Linked DNA regions of Homo sapiens: regions 1, 3 and 4 are each linked to region 2. Evidence: promoter capture Hi-C in human tissues and cell types (Jung and others, 2019). All regions are on one chromosome and are shown on one strand. The core of a region is centred on a gene start or on the middle of the fragment in contact, and the rest is flanking DNA. Distances in the headings are between cores, read along the strand shown.

Region 1 (3,156 bases), core at 458-2,957, 700 kb before region 2:
ACCAGCCTGACCAATATGGTGAAACCCTGTCTCTACTAAAAAATACAAAAATTAGCTGGGCGTGGTGGCGAGCGCCTGTAGTCCCAGCTACTCAGGAGGCTGAGGCAGGAGACTCGCTTGAGCCCGGGAGGCAGAGGTTGCAGTGAGCCGAGATTGGCCACTGCACTGCCCAGGCGAAGAAAATGTCATTTACAACTGGTGCTCAGCCTCCCCTGGAGACCATCACAGCCTCCTGAAGAAGCTGACAACCCAGGGAGGTGCCTTTATTTCTGAGGAAAGACGCAGCTGGTGCCAACACCAGCAGAAACCGTATTCCCTTTCCATATCACTCAGCCCAGCACTGCCTGGCAAATGTTCCCGGCTTGCTGTTTTGTAACTGTAATACTTTGTACAAACAGGTCAAGGACCTGCAGCCTGGGGCCTGGACCAAGTCCAGAAACATGTTCGGTTTGGCCCCAAAAACAAAAAAAAATTGAGATATGGTCTCACTCTGTCCCCTAGGCTACAGTGCAGTGGTGCGATCAAGGGTCACTGCAGCCTCGACCTCCTGGACTCAAGCGATCCTCCCACCTCAGCCTCCAAAGTGACTGAGACTACAGTTGTGTGCCACCACGCCCGGCTGATTTTGTTTAGTTTTTGTAGCGATGAGGTCTCAACATGTTGCCAGGCTGGTCTGGAACTCCTGGACTCAAGCGATCCTCCCGCCTCGGCCTCCCAAAGTGCTGGGATGACAGGCGTGCGTCACTGCACTTCTTTTTTAAATCAGGAAGTTTCACAGCATCTTGCTTCCCTTGAACTGGGCGGCACCAAATACGGGGGCTGGGGCCTCCCTTAGAATGGGGTACGCACGCCCTGCCGATGCACACAGTCCCGCTGGAACTCTCTGCCTGGACCCTTATGAATGTCCCTAAAACTGTAATTCTGAGGACCTCAAAATCCATGTCCTTTCCTTAGCAATGGCGACATTCTACCCCCTGCAGAGCCTTGACAGCTTTCGGCGAGATCTGGAAACCGCCAGGGACGCCTCCCTGTCTGCGCCTCCGCCCGCCCAGTGCCCTGCGCTGCGCACCCGCCCGGGGCGCTGGCCTGGCCCGGCCGCGCGACCACCTCGGGCGAATGACACGCCGGGTCCCCAGACGGGGGCTCCGGCGCCGGGCGGGCAGCTCCACCACCGCAGGCGGCGCCGCGAGACCGCGGTCCTTGCAGCGGGGCAGCAGGTGCGGGGTGGGCCAGGCGTCCCGGGGCCCTGCCCGCTGCGCCTCAGAGCCGCGCCCCAGGCTCTCCTCGGCGCCGGCCCGGGCAGGACGCGATGCCCTGGAGGCGTCAGGGGCGCGGCCGGCCCAGCCCGAGCGTGGAGGCCGCGGCGGACGCAGGCCTGGCCCTGCTTACCTAGCGCTTTCCGCACCCGCGGCCCCGCGCCCGCTCCGCGCCAGCCTCAGCGCCTGCGCCGCCTCCGCTCGAGCCCGGCAGCGCGGCCTTAGGCACCTGCGCAACAGACACCGCGTCAGCGGTCGCCAAACGACGGCCCGGCGCCGCCCGCTGCCCGCCCCGCCAGGCCCGCGTCCCCCGGCCCGCACCGCCCCGCCGCACCCACCGAGGCCTCGGCGGGCGCAGGCGGCTCCCAGCGCGGCGAGGCTGCGGCGGCCGAGCAGCCCTCGGCCCACCACCATGACCCGGGCCGGGCTGGACTGCCGAGCTGCCCAGGACTGCAAAACACCGGCGTCGGCGCGTCGCAGCCAATCAGCGCCCGCCTCGCGCTGCCCTCAGCCAATCAGCGTCCACCTCGCACCGTCCGCCAACCAATCAACGCGCTCGCGCTCAACTTGTTTTGTCCGCGAGCCCCGACTGCCACGGGCCGGGAGACGGGCCTGGGAGCGGCGGCGGCGGCCCGAGAGCTGCGCCGGGAGAGCTGTGCCGCGAGCCTCCGCCTCTTTTTTGGCACCGCACAGTGGATCCCTGGAGGCCGAGCGCCACGCCGCCCGGGTACCCGGCAGATCGCGAGGTGGAACGGGCCGTCGCTGCGGGGGACAGCGTTCCGAGGCAGTTGGTCCTCTCCGGGATGCCGTAGGCATCAGCTGACCGGCCCAGCCCACGTGACTACAGGGGCACTTGATGGGAATCATGGCAGCATCCAGGCCATTGTCCCGCTTCTGGGAGTGGGGAAAGAACATCGTCTGCGTGGGGAGGAACTACGCGGACCACGTCAGGGAGATGCGCAGCGCGGTGTTGAGCGAGCCCGTGCTGTTCCTGAAGCCGTCCACGGCCTACGCGCCCGAGGGCTCGCCCATCCTCATGCCCGCGTACACTCGCAACCTGCACCACGAGCTGGAGCTGGGCGTGGTGATGGGCAAGCGCTGCCGCGCAGTCCCCGAGGCTGCGGCCATGGACTACGTGGGCGGCTATGCCCTGTGCCTGGATATGACCGCCCGGGACGTGCAGGACGAGTGCAAGAAGAAGGGGCTGCCCTGGACTCTGGCGAAGAGCTTCACGGCGTCCTGCCCGGTCAGCGCGTTCGTGCCCAAGGAGAAGATCCCTGACCCTCACAAGCTGAAGCTCTGGCTCAAGGTCAACGGCGAACTCAGACAGGAGGGTGAGACATCCTCCATGATTTTTTCCATCCCCTACATCATCAGCTATGTTTCTAAGATCATAACCTTGGAAGAAGGAGATATTATCTTGACTGGGACGCCAAAGGGAGTTGGACCGGTTAAAGAAAACGATGAGATCGAGGCTGGCATACACGGGCTGGTCAGTATGACATTTAAAGTGGAAAAGCCAGAATATTGAGTTATTTCTTAACAAGTTTCGAGAGAGAAGGGAGCAAGACAAGAGCAAGCAACGGCTATTAAATGTCACAATCCTTTAATTAGAAACCATTTATTGGCCGGACGCGGTGGCTCACGCCTGTAATCGCAGCACTTTGGGAGGCCGAGGCGGGCGGCTCACGACGTCAGGAGATCCAGACCATCTTGGCTAACAGGGTGAAACCCCGTCTCTACTAAAAATACAAAAAATTAGCCGGGCGTGGTGGCGGGCGCCTGTAGTCCCAGCTACTCTGGAGGCTGAGGCAGGAGAATCAATTGAACCCGGGAGGCGGAGCTTACAGTGAGCTGAGATTGCGCCACTGTACTCCTGGGCAACAGCGAGACTCCGTCT
Region 2 (3,570 bases), core at 624-3,123:
TGTGGCAGGCGGACGCAGCTAGGCAGTGACAAGGACCTCGGCTGAGAGGACACCTGGCCGCAGCGGGATGCCATCAGGGCCGGGTGGTTGGGGAGCTGGTCTCCAGGGAGTGAGTCGGGAGCCCTGCTGGATTGATGCCCAGGGCCTGTGCGGCCGCCCTGGAGGCGGTGGCTGGGATAAACGTGCACCCAGCAGGACTCGCCTTGGCTCCGGGTTTTGCTTGTGCTCACATGTGGCACCATCCTTGGTTGCCCTCCTGGAGAAGGCATTCACGGCCTGGGGTGGGATGGCTGGGCTGTAGTTTAGCCTGGGCCTTGGGCCCCAGTGGGGGACAGGGCCTGTCTGCATGAAGTGGACCGGAGACCTGCAGACCCCAGGAAAGTGTCACTATGGGAGGGAGGGGCAGGCAGTCAGTGGCTGGTGCCATGGGGTGAAGCCACCATGGGCTGGGGGTGAAGAGCCGGCAGGAAGGGGACCAGTCACAGGGAGTGTGGACAGTCAGGGGTTTGCTTTCTGCTCCTGAGTTGGGGTGTGCAGCGTGGAGCCCACAGCCTGGTTCTGGGCCAGGGCACAGTGCCAGGGGCTCCGCTCTGACCTCCAGGAGGGAGACTGGGCCCGGGACCCCTGTTTTCTGCTCCCTGGACTGCCTAGCCCTGAGTGCCACGGATGACCAGCGTTCTGTTTTCTCTTCTCAATAACCCTATCTCTTCACACATCCCCAGGCCCAGTGCTTGCCGGCTGTGGTGACCCTGCCTGGTGCTGGAGGGCAGTATGGGAGGCACCAGTGTGCCCTGCTCACCCCATTAGTGTCATCCTGCCATCTTCTGTGTCCCCTTGGCCCTGGCACACACCCATGTGGCAAACACGGGCCGTGAGGCTCCCTGAACAGCTTCGAGGCGGGTGGGCTTCTGGAGCCCTCTTGGCTCTGAGGACAGCCACAGTGGGGTCAGACGTCAGGGATTGGTGCAGCCCCACGTCAGGGGTGATTGTCTTGACTTTCTCTCCATTTGAGTTCTGGGGTGGGTGGCTCCCTTCCCCCTTGCTTACAGGTGCTGTCCTGGGCACAGGAGGTACGCGCCTGGCTCTGCCACTGTTCTCTTCCCTCTGCTGCAAAGCCCAGTTAAGGAAATGTCTCCAGGTCCAAAGAGATAGGATGGTCTGGGCCCCACCTGTTGGAAGGGAACAGCCAGGGAAGAACCACCTGCCTGGGCAGGGCCTCGCCTGAGGGAGGGCCTGGGGCAGGGCACAAGGGGTTGATCTCAGCCCACAAGCCCCAGGGGCAGCCCAGGAAAGCAGGCGACGGATGTGGATCCTGACCTCCTGAGAGGTGTGAGGTGCAGGGATACCCACCTCTGCCTTGACGGCCGCGCACCCCTTAGGAAGTGGCTGTCCAGCGCCTGCCTGTGCTGGGCCTGGGAGAGGAGCTGTCTTGCCAGGGCTCCCAGGCAGGGAGAGGCAGGTGAGGTTCTCAGCCGATGTGTTAGAGGTTGAGCATCGCCTGTGCCCAGCTTGCTGGCTGTCAGTGCTTGATGTGCCCATCCTCAGCTAAAACCCAGAGCTGGCATGTTGGTCATCCCCACCTCAGACGGGACGCCCAGTCCAGAGCTGGTGAGCCCTGGGCCAGCCTTTGGGCCTGGCCTGCCCCATTCACCGGCCAGCGCCCCACCTCCCTGGCTGGAGGGTCGGGGAGGGGCTGGCAGAGATGGTTGGTCCACAGGGCTAGCCCTGGGTGGTGGGAGAGGGGCCCAGGGTCAGGGTGAGAGAGAGCTGGGCCAGGGAGCTGCTGCAGGATGATTTTGAGGTGTGGGGGAAGCACTCTTGGTTGGTTTTGGTTTGCTTTTTAAAAATTGTGGTAAAATACATAACAAAAGTAACTATCGTAACCTGAGCAGTTCTGTGACATGAAGTGAATTCACTGCTTTGTGTGACCTTGGCCACCATCATTCCCCACCACTCACTCCCGCTGGGCTCCCAGCCCTGCCCCACCATTCCGCTCCCTCTACAGCTATGGGTTTTACAAAGAAGGATGCAGGGCGCCCTGACTGCGGGGTGAGGGGCAGGCCTGCCCGCGGTGTGGGCATTCGCTGAAGGGGGACGCCCAGGTGTCTGCCTGAGTTACGGGTTGGGGGGTCGGGCATGTGGGGAGGGATGGAGTTGGAGGTGCATGCTCTCAGAGCTGGTAGGGGTGGCCCGTTTCGTCCCGTGTGTGAACTGGAGATGAGACCCGGCGCCTGCGATCCCGCAGACCGCGCCCGGCCGGGTGTCACTTGTGGGCGCACGCTGCCGGGATGCTGGGCCGAGCCCGCGGTTTAAGACCCAGATCTCAGCCAGGTCCCTTTCGCCGTCCGAGCCTCTGCACCTCGTGGGCTCCGAGCACATCCAGGCCAGAGACTGCGTTTGGGGCGTGGGCACGGGAGACCGTCATCAGCCAGGACGCTCTCGACCGATCCGGCCGCGCCCCGCCCAGCCTCGTAGCGCAGGCGCTGAGTCCAGGCTGACGCGCAACTCTGGGAGCGTTGCGGCACGCGGGGCCTTGCCTACTGTGGGAGGGGCTTCTGGGGGCGGGCTTCTGTCGGGCCAATTAGGATCGCCGCAGGGAAGGCACGCGCCGCGGCTGAGCAACAGGGGCGCGCGTCACCTTCTCTAGTTAACCCGCGCGGCCCCGGGCACAGAGCCCGAGGCTGCGCGGTCCCCGGCGGGCCCGCGGACCCCCCCCATCTCTGCGCCCCCCACATCTCTGCGGACCCCGCCTCGCCCCAGCCCTCCCATCCACAACCCTCACAACCTTGCATACCCCGCTACGCTCCCCACCGCGCCCTCACATTCCTGCAGACCCCGTCTCCCCACAACGCTCCCCGCCAACGCTGCGGAGCTCCGCGTCGCCCCAGCGCTCCCTGCCAAGCCCCCCACACCCCTGTAGACCCCGCCTCGCCCCAACCCTCCGAGCTGCTCCCCTTATACCCTTGCGGACCTAGTTTGTTTCGTCCCAGTCCTCCCCGTCGCGTCTCCCACATCCCTGCGGACCTCCCCGCGCCTCGCCTCTCCCTTCTGTTACGTATCACGCACAGGTGGATCCCACTACGACCCAGCTTGGCTCCTGTCCCGCACCTCCGCACCTGGCCTCTAGCCCCGCCCTCACTGTCTTGGGAAATGAAGCGGAGGGGTGGGCCGGACACTCTAGAAGCACCCTGGCTCGGAGCTTCCCTAGCTCGGAGTTGGTTTGGAGCCCAGGCTAGGGACCCAGGGTGGGCGCAGCAGGGGAGATTGGCACCAGAAGCGTGGAGGAAGGGCACCTCTTCAGCCCGGCTTTTCCGCCCCTGGAGTCTGGGACAGCTCCGGAGCGTCCGGGTACTCCCTCCCAGACTGGCCCTGTTCCTTTTATCACATTTATGTCACACACGTTTTTTCTAAATGGGTTTACACTTTTGCTATTACTTTGCAGTTCGGTTTGTGTGTGTGTGACGGAGCCTGGCTGTGTTGCGCAGGCTGGAGTGCAGTGGTGCGATCTCTGCTCACTGCAGCTTCCGCCTCCCGGGTTCAAGCGATTCTCCGCCTCAGCCCCCTTAGTAG
Region 3 (3,308 bases), core at 53-2,552, 520 kb before region 2:
CCCACAAATTGCTCAGAGAATTGCAGCATCTCTTCAACTCCTTTGATGTAAACGTCTACTTAAAGAAAGAAAAGGAAAAAAAGAAAGAACCTACACCTCAATACTGCTCTGCATCACTTCTGGGGAGAAGAAAGTTAGATTCCTGGCAGATGTCACCAGCCGAAGCCTTCTATGAACAAACCGGGGGAATTTCACAATGCTGGAAGCAAACAAATCTCTAAGCTCAGCAAACCAACGGGCTCCAGCCAGGTGCCCACAGCCAGCAGCTGGCAGTGCAGTGAGGGTGGAGGAACGCTGCATGGTACCCTCTGACCCCTCCACGGCTTCCAAGTCTGTACAGTCAAAAACGTCTCCCATTCACTGCGGAGATGAGCGCCAAAGGCGGGGGGCGGCGGCGAGGAGGAGGACAACTTCCTAACACTTTTCTCCCTTCCCGCCAAGAAGCGCGAGGGGGCCTTCCCCTCCGACGGGCAGGTCTCCTTCCGAGGCTAGTGTCACCTCCACTCCACAGAGGAAAACGTCAGTCTCGGAAGGAGTTTGCTCAGGGTCATCCAATGGGGGCCCAGAAACACAGCTGGGCTGAGAATGCCCAGAGTTTGACGCCCTGCTTCCAGGACGGATGGCCTCCGCAGAGTCCCCCTTGCCTTGTTTCCTCGAATGGAGGACCCTGGAAAATAAACTCCTGAAGACGAGCAGGTCACCGAGTTCTCCATCTGATCAGGACCCTTCCTGAGGCCCGGCAGGAACCCCCGGGACACGGGGGAAGTCCCCAGGCTGTCCCCACAGGGCTTGCCCCCTCCTGCAACCCGCTCGGCCGCCTCCGGCCTCCAAGCCCCAACGCCCCGCCGTCAGCCGCACGGCCGGGACCCCGCCCTGGGTGGCCCCACCAGGCCTCTCTCGGAAGCCGGCGCCGCCGGGCCCACGGCCGGACCTCAGTGAGGCAAAGTCCCCATCCGGTCGCCGGGAGCCCCGCTGCCCCCGGGCCGCGCCCCCGGCGCCCCGCACCTGGCGCAGCTCCTCGCGGCACACGGCGCAGTAGCGCTGCTCGCAGAGCACCCGCATCTTGGTAGAGCAGCGGTAGCACACCGGGTGGTCGCAGCGGCCCCAGCGCCGTGGCCTCCAGGTCTCCGCAGCACAGCACGCAGCTCCCGCCTCCCCGCTCAGGAGCTGCCGCCGCCTCCGCCTCCATGTCCGCGCGCCGCCCCTCGGCGCCCCCCGGCCGCCGCCATGGTCCGGGATCCGGCCCCCCTCTCGGCCGGTCGTGGCGCCGAGCGGCCTGGCTCCCGGCGGGCCCGCCCCTTCCGGGCAAACGTCACCGCCCCACCCAGCAACGGGCCCGCCCGGCGCAAGTGCGCGTCGCGACTTCCGCCTCAGCGCGGCGCCGGCTAGAGCGGTGGCCCTGATAGAGGCCGCTCTACCATGAGCCGACCGCTCGAAGGTCCGCGCGGCCACGCGGCCAGCCCCGGGCTCCTCTGGGCCACGCGTGTCACGTCAACACTCGCCGGGCTCCACGAACTGGCGTTGTCAGATGAAACACGGCACAACTGGTTTGCATCTCAGATGAACAAGGGGTCATGTCTTAGTGTAAGTATAGCCCAAATATTGATGGGCTAGGCTCATACTAAAATGCTGCTCCTTATCTGAAATTGACATTTAAGTGGACCTGCCGTATTTGTATTTGCTAAATCTGGCCACCTTATTAGGAAACCGGTCTCTGGTATTTGGAACACACACAAGCGTGGTCCCGCCTCCACTTCCCTAATGCCCTGTTTAAATCCCTACATGAAAGACAACGTGAAAGGCAGCACGTGGTGACGTCCATCTCGCAGCCCAGGGCAGTCTCGCCAGGCCTGCCCAGAAGGGGCCTCTGGAAGGCACGAACGGAACCTGTCCTCTTTACGCTGGGCCCAGCACAGGACGTGTTTGGATGGATGCTGCAGTAACAGGGCCTCCTCCCTACCCTTGAGGGCCAGGCACACTCAGGACCTCCCTCCCTCTGCCATCCAGAAGGCAGGTCCAGATCTAAACCCTACTGGAAAAGAGGCAGTAAATTGTATCAATGAGCCTGAACTTTACTTACTTTATTTGAGACCGGGTCTTGCTCTTGCTGTAACACAGTGGTACGATCACAGCACACTGAGGCCTCAACCTCCTGGGCTCAAGTGATCCATGCCCAGTGAACTTGGACTTTAGAAACAGACACAAATGGGCTTGAAACCCCAATTTTGCCACTTGAAAAAAGCTGTCAGGCACAGTGGCTCAAGCCTGTAATCCCAGCAGTTTGGGAGGCTGGGTGGCCCGGATTGCTGGAGCCTGGGAATTTGAGACCAGCCTGGCCTACACAGTCAGGCTCCATCTCCACAAAAAAAATTTTTAGGCCGGGCGTGGTGGCTCACGCCTGTAATCCCAGCACTTTGGGAGGTTGGGATCACCTGAGGTCAGGAATTGGAGACAAGCCTGACCAAAATGGTGAAACCCCATCTCTACTAAAAATACAAAAATTAGCCGGGCGTGGTGACATGTGCCTGTAGTCCCAGCTACTCGGCAGCCTGAGGCAGTAGAATCTCTTGAAACCGTGAGGCAGAGGTTGCAGTGAGCCGAGATCACGACAATCACGCCACTGCACTCCAGCCTTGGCAACAGAGCGAGACTCCATCTCAAAAAAAAAAAAAAAAACACACACGACTAGAGTGCAGTGGCGTGATCTCGGCTCACTGCAAGCTCCGCCTCCCGGGTTCACGCCATTCTCCTGCCTCAGCCTCCTGAGTAGCTGGGACTACAGGCACCCGCCACCACGCCCTGCTAATTTTTTTTTTTTATTTTTAGTAGAGACAGGATTTCACCATGTTCGCCAGGATGGTCTCGATCTCCTGACCTCTTGATCCACCTGCCTTGGCCTCCCAAAGTGCTGGGATTACAGGCATGAGCCACTGTGCCTGGCCAAAACACACAAAAATTAACGGGGCGTGGTGACATGCGCCTGTAGTCACAGCTTCTCGGGAGGCTGAGGCACGAGAAACGCTTGATCCCAGGAGGCAGAGGTTTCAATGAGCAGAGATTGCGCCCCTGCACTCCAACCTGGGCCACAGAGTGAGACTCCATCTCAAAAAAAAAAAAAGAAAACTGGGAAAAGTTATTGTAAGGATGTAAGAAGTTCAACATCTTGGCTGGGCGCGGTGGCTCACACCTGTAATCCCAGCTTGAAATTGGCACTTTGTGAGGCTGAGGCAGGTGGATCACGAGGTCAGGAGATCAAGACCATCATGACTAACGCGGTGAAACCCCATGTCTACTAAAAATACAAAAAG
Region 4 (2,548 bases), core at 49-2,548, 570 kb before region 2:
CTGGAGCAGGGGGCGGCGCTCGTCGGGGAGGTTCGGGCCGCACAGGAGCCCACGGAGTGGGGGAGGCTCAGGCATGGCGGGCTGTAGGTCCCGAGCCCTGCCCCGCGGGGAGGCAGCTAAGGCCTGGCGAGAGAAATCGAGCGCAGCGCCGGTGGGCCGGCCTGCTGGGGGACCCAGCACACCCTCCGCAGCCGCTGGCCCGGGTGCTAAGCCCCTCATTGCCCAGGGCCGGCAGGGCCGGCCAGGCTCTCCGAGTGCGGGGCCCGCCGAGCCCACACCCACCTGGAATTCGCGCTGGCCCGCAAAGCACCGCGCGCAGCCCCGGTTCCCGCCTGCGCCTCTCCCTCCACACCTCCCCGCAAGCTGAGGGAGCCCGCTCTGGCCTTGGCCAGCCCAGAAAGGGGCTCCTCAAGTGCCGCCAAAGTGGGAGCCCAGGCAGAGGAGGCGCCGAGAGCGAGCGAGGGCTCTGAGGACTGCCAGCACGCTGTCACCTCTCACTGTTTGTCTGTAGGGTTGATGGTTCTGTGTCGCTGGCCTCAACCTCAGGACAGGACATGACCAGTGTCCCCCCTGGATAGCAGCCAGGGGCCGTGCCAGGTGTGGAGACTGAAGATGTGGCCAGCAGGACCCTGCTCAGTGGAGCTGCCTAGAAGCACCAGAGTGCCCCAGGGCCAGGATGGAACCATCAAAGCCGGCCAGAGGGCCCTGTGCCCAGGGTAGGTGCCTTCTCCCTATGAGCCGCCTAAGGGCAAGCCCTGCCTCCTGGTCTGCTCCCTGCCCTCCCCCAGACAGGCTCCCAAGTTAACTGGCACCAGCCAGTCCATGAGGGGCCCTTGTAGAGAGCGGGGCCCAGAGAAGTCTGTAGGGACTAGGCAATCCAGGAAAGCTTCCTGGAGGAGTAGGGTGTTTGGAATCGCGTGCTATTTGTTCACTTTGTCGTGTGCGCTCTAACGGCCTGTGTTCTCCATCACAGTTTATCTTATTCCCTGCTGCACTCAGCACAGTGCCTGGCGCGCAGTGGGAACCGAATGACCCCCTCCTATTCCTTATGTCAGTTGCCTTTTGTCTGTTTCTTTCATCGTAAGCAGGAATCTGTCCGGTTCGCGGCTGCTTCCCAGGCGCCCAGACCAGCGACCAGCACCGCGTAGGCGCTCGGCACAGACCGAGAACGGAGGCCCCACGCGGGGGCGCCCTGCGGCGAGGCGGGTCCCGGCCGCGCCCGGCGGAGCCGGGGAACTACAAGTCCCATGGTGCATCGCGGCGCCAGCGCGCAGACGCAGCCGCCCTCGGCGTCCTCTGTAGCGGGCGACCTAGGCCGCGGGACCCGGACGGAGGTAGAGGCCAGGGCAGCGCGTCCGGGAGCGGAGTCCGCGCCCGCCGCCGCCATGCCGGACAGCTGGGACAAGGATGTGTACCCTGAGCCCCCGCGCCGCACGCCGGTGCAGCCCAATCCCATCGTCTACATGATGAAAGCGTTCGACCTCATCGTGGACCGACCCGTGACCCTCGTGAGAGGTACGAAGCCCCAGCCCGGGGCTCCCTCGCCGGCCTCTGGGGACCCCTGGATCCCACACCCTGCCTGGATCCTCCAATGCCTCCGGGGTCCCGTCTGCCTGAGACCGCCCCCCGCTGCACCCCGGGGACAACTCCCCACCCCCGGAGACCTCCGAGCTCCGTCGCCTCCTTTGGCCTCCCACTGCACCCCGGACCTCACCTCCCAGGATCCCTTACTCTCCCCTGCACCCCGGGATGCCCCGCTTCTTCCCAGGACTCTTCCCTCCCTGCCGCACCCAGCGCCCACTGCCCCAGGACCCCGCACTGCTCTCCGCCCCCCGCCGCCCCGGGCACCCCTCCACTGCACCGCTGGCCTCAGGCCTCTCTCAAATGTCTCTCTGCCGGATGACCAAGTGTCGGGGTGATGGCCGAGATGCCCAAATTCAGCATCTCTGGAACGAACCGGGAAAATGCCCAGTTCAGTTTTTGTTGTTTTTTTTTTTCCTGAGACAGTCTCACTCTGTTGCCCAGGCTGGAGTGCAGTGGCGCGATCTCGGCTCACTGCAACCTCTGCCCCACCCCGGGTTCAAGCGATTCTCCTGCCTCAGCCTCCCCAGTACTAGGATTACAGGCGCACCACCACCACGCCCAGCTAATTTTTATATTTTTAGTAGACACGGGGTTTCACCATGTTGGCCAGGCTGGTCTCGAACTCCTGACCTCAGGTGATCCTCCCACCTTGGCCCCCAGGTGCTGGGATTACAGGCCTGAGCCACCGTGTCCAGCCTGGTTCAGTTCTTTTTGAACACTTGGGGTGCATAGCATGCTCTGGTGGTTCTTCCGTAAGAGGGTGAAGTCTCCAAATCAAACCCCCAAAGATCTGGAAACCGTGCAACAGCGGACCCAGCTCCCTCTCTTTTGTAGCAGTTGTAGAGCATGTCTGTCCTATGTGTCTGGATGTTCGAGCTCTCCTTTTAGCTCGTTCATTTCCCAGTGAGGAAGCTGAGGCCGTAAGGTGGTAAGTTCTGCTTGCTGGAGGCTCCCTGTTGGAGCC

What was found. The method cuts DNA at HindIII sites, captures the fragments that hold promoters and counts their contacts. A contact is called where the count stands out against the background at its distance.
Region 1: the fragment with the promoter of HAGH here is called in contact with the fragment with the promoter of CEMP1 in region 2 in 1 of the 25 tissues and cell types used here (lymphoblastoid cells).
Region 3: the fragment with the promoter of ZNF598 here is called in contact with the fragment with the promoter of CEMP1 in region 2 in 3 of the 25 tissues and cell types used here (IMR-90 fibroblasts, lymphoblastoid cells and spleen).
Region 4: a contact is called between the fragment with the promoter of NDUFB10 here and the fragment with the promoter of CEMP1 in region 2, in 2 of the 25 tissues and cell types used here (lymphoblastoid cells and spleen).

What each region holds. Positions count from the first base shown.
Region 1 is chr16:1,825,118-1,828,273 of GRCh38, forward strand. HAGH (hydroxyacylglutathione hydrolase) reads right to left here and starts at 1,708. Exons shown (of 9, transcript NM_005326.6): 1 at 1,595-1,708. The coding sequence starts at 1,670. It overlaps FAHD1 (fumarylacetoacetate hydrolase domain containing 1), which reads left to right and starts at 2,089. Exons shown (of 1, transcript NM_031208.4): 1 at 2,089-3,156. The coding sequence starts at 2,122. The coding sequence ends at 2,787. RefSeq lists a silencer at 1,059-2,028 and an enhancer at 2,119-2,308. The HindIII fragment of the contact is 9,774 bases long and covers 1-3,156 here.
Region 2 is chr16:2,529,535-2,533,104 of GRCh38, forward strand. CEMP1 (cementum protein 1) reads right to left here and starts at 1,874. Exons shown (of 1, transcript NM_001048212.3): 1 at 501-1,874. The coding sequence starts at 1,539. The coding sequence ends at 796. It overlaps AMDHD2 (amidohydrolase domain containing 2), which reads left to right. Exons shown (of 11, transcript NM_001330449.2): 11 at 1-1,883. The coding sequence ends at 29. MIR3178 (microRNA 3178) reads right to left here and starts at 2,471; the gene lies at 2,388-2,471. RefSeq lists enhancers at 2,277-2,326, 3,105-3,570, 3,107-3,156. The HindIII fragment of the contact is 25,225 bases long and covers 1-3,570 here.
Region 3 is chr16:2,008,519-2,011,826 of GRCh38, forward strand. It overlaps ZNF598 (zinc finger protein 598, E3 ubiquitin ligase), which reads right to left and starts at 1,303. Exons shown (of 14, transcript NM_178167.5): 1 at 1,220-1,303; 2 at 1,107-1,218; 3 at 1,006-1,105. The coding sequence starts at 1,229. It overlaps LOC124903626 (a long non-coding RNA gene), which reads left to right and starts at 1,367. Exons shown (of 2, transcript XR_007064941.1): 1 at 1,367-1,584; 2 at 1,790-2,070. RefSeq lists silencers at 602-671, 682-1,111, 1,202-1,421 and enhancers at 1,029-1,977, 1,502-1,661. The HindIII fragment of the contact is 21,988 bases long and covers 1-3,308 here.
Region 4 is chr16:1,958,240-1,960,787 of GRCh38, forward strand. NDUFB10 (NADH:ubiquinone oxidoreductase subunit B10) reads left to right here and starts at 1,299. Exons shown (of 4, transcript NM_004548.3): 1 at 1,299-1,515. The coding sequence starts at 1,386. RefSeq lists an enhancer at 1-356 and silencers at 1,079-1,388, 1,819-1,928. The HindIII fragment of the contact is 2,906 bases long and covers 266-2,548 here.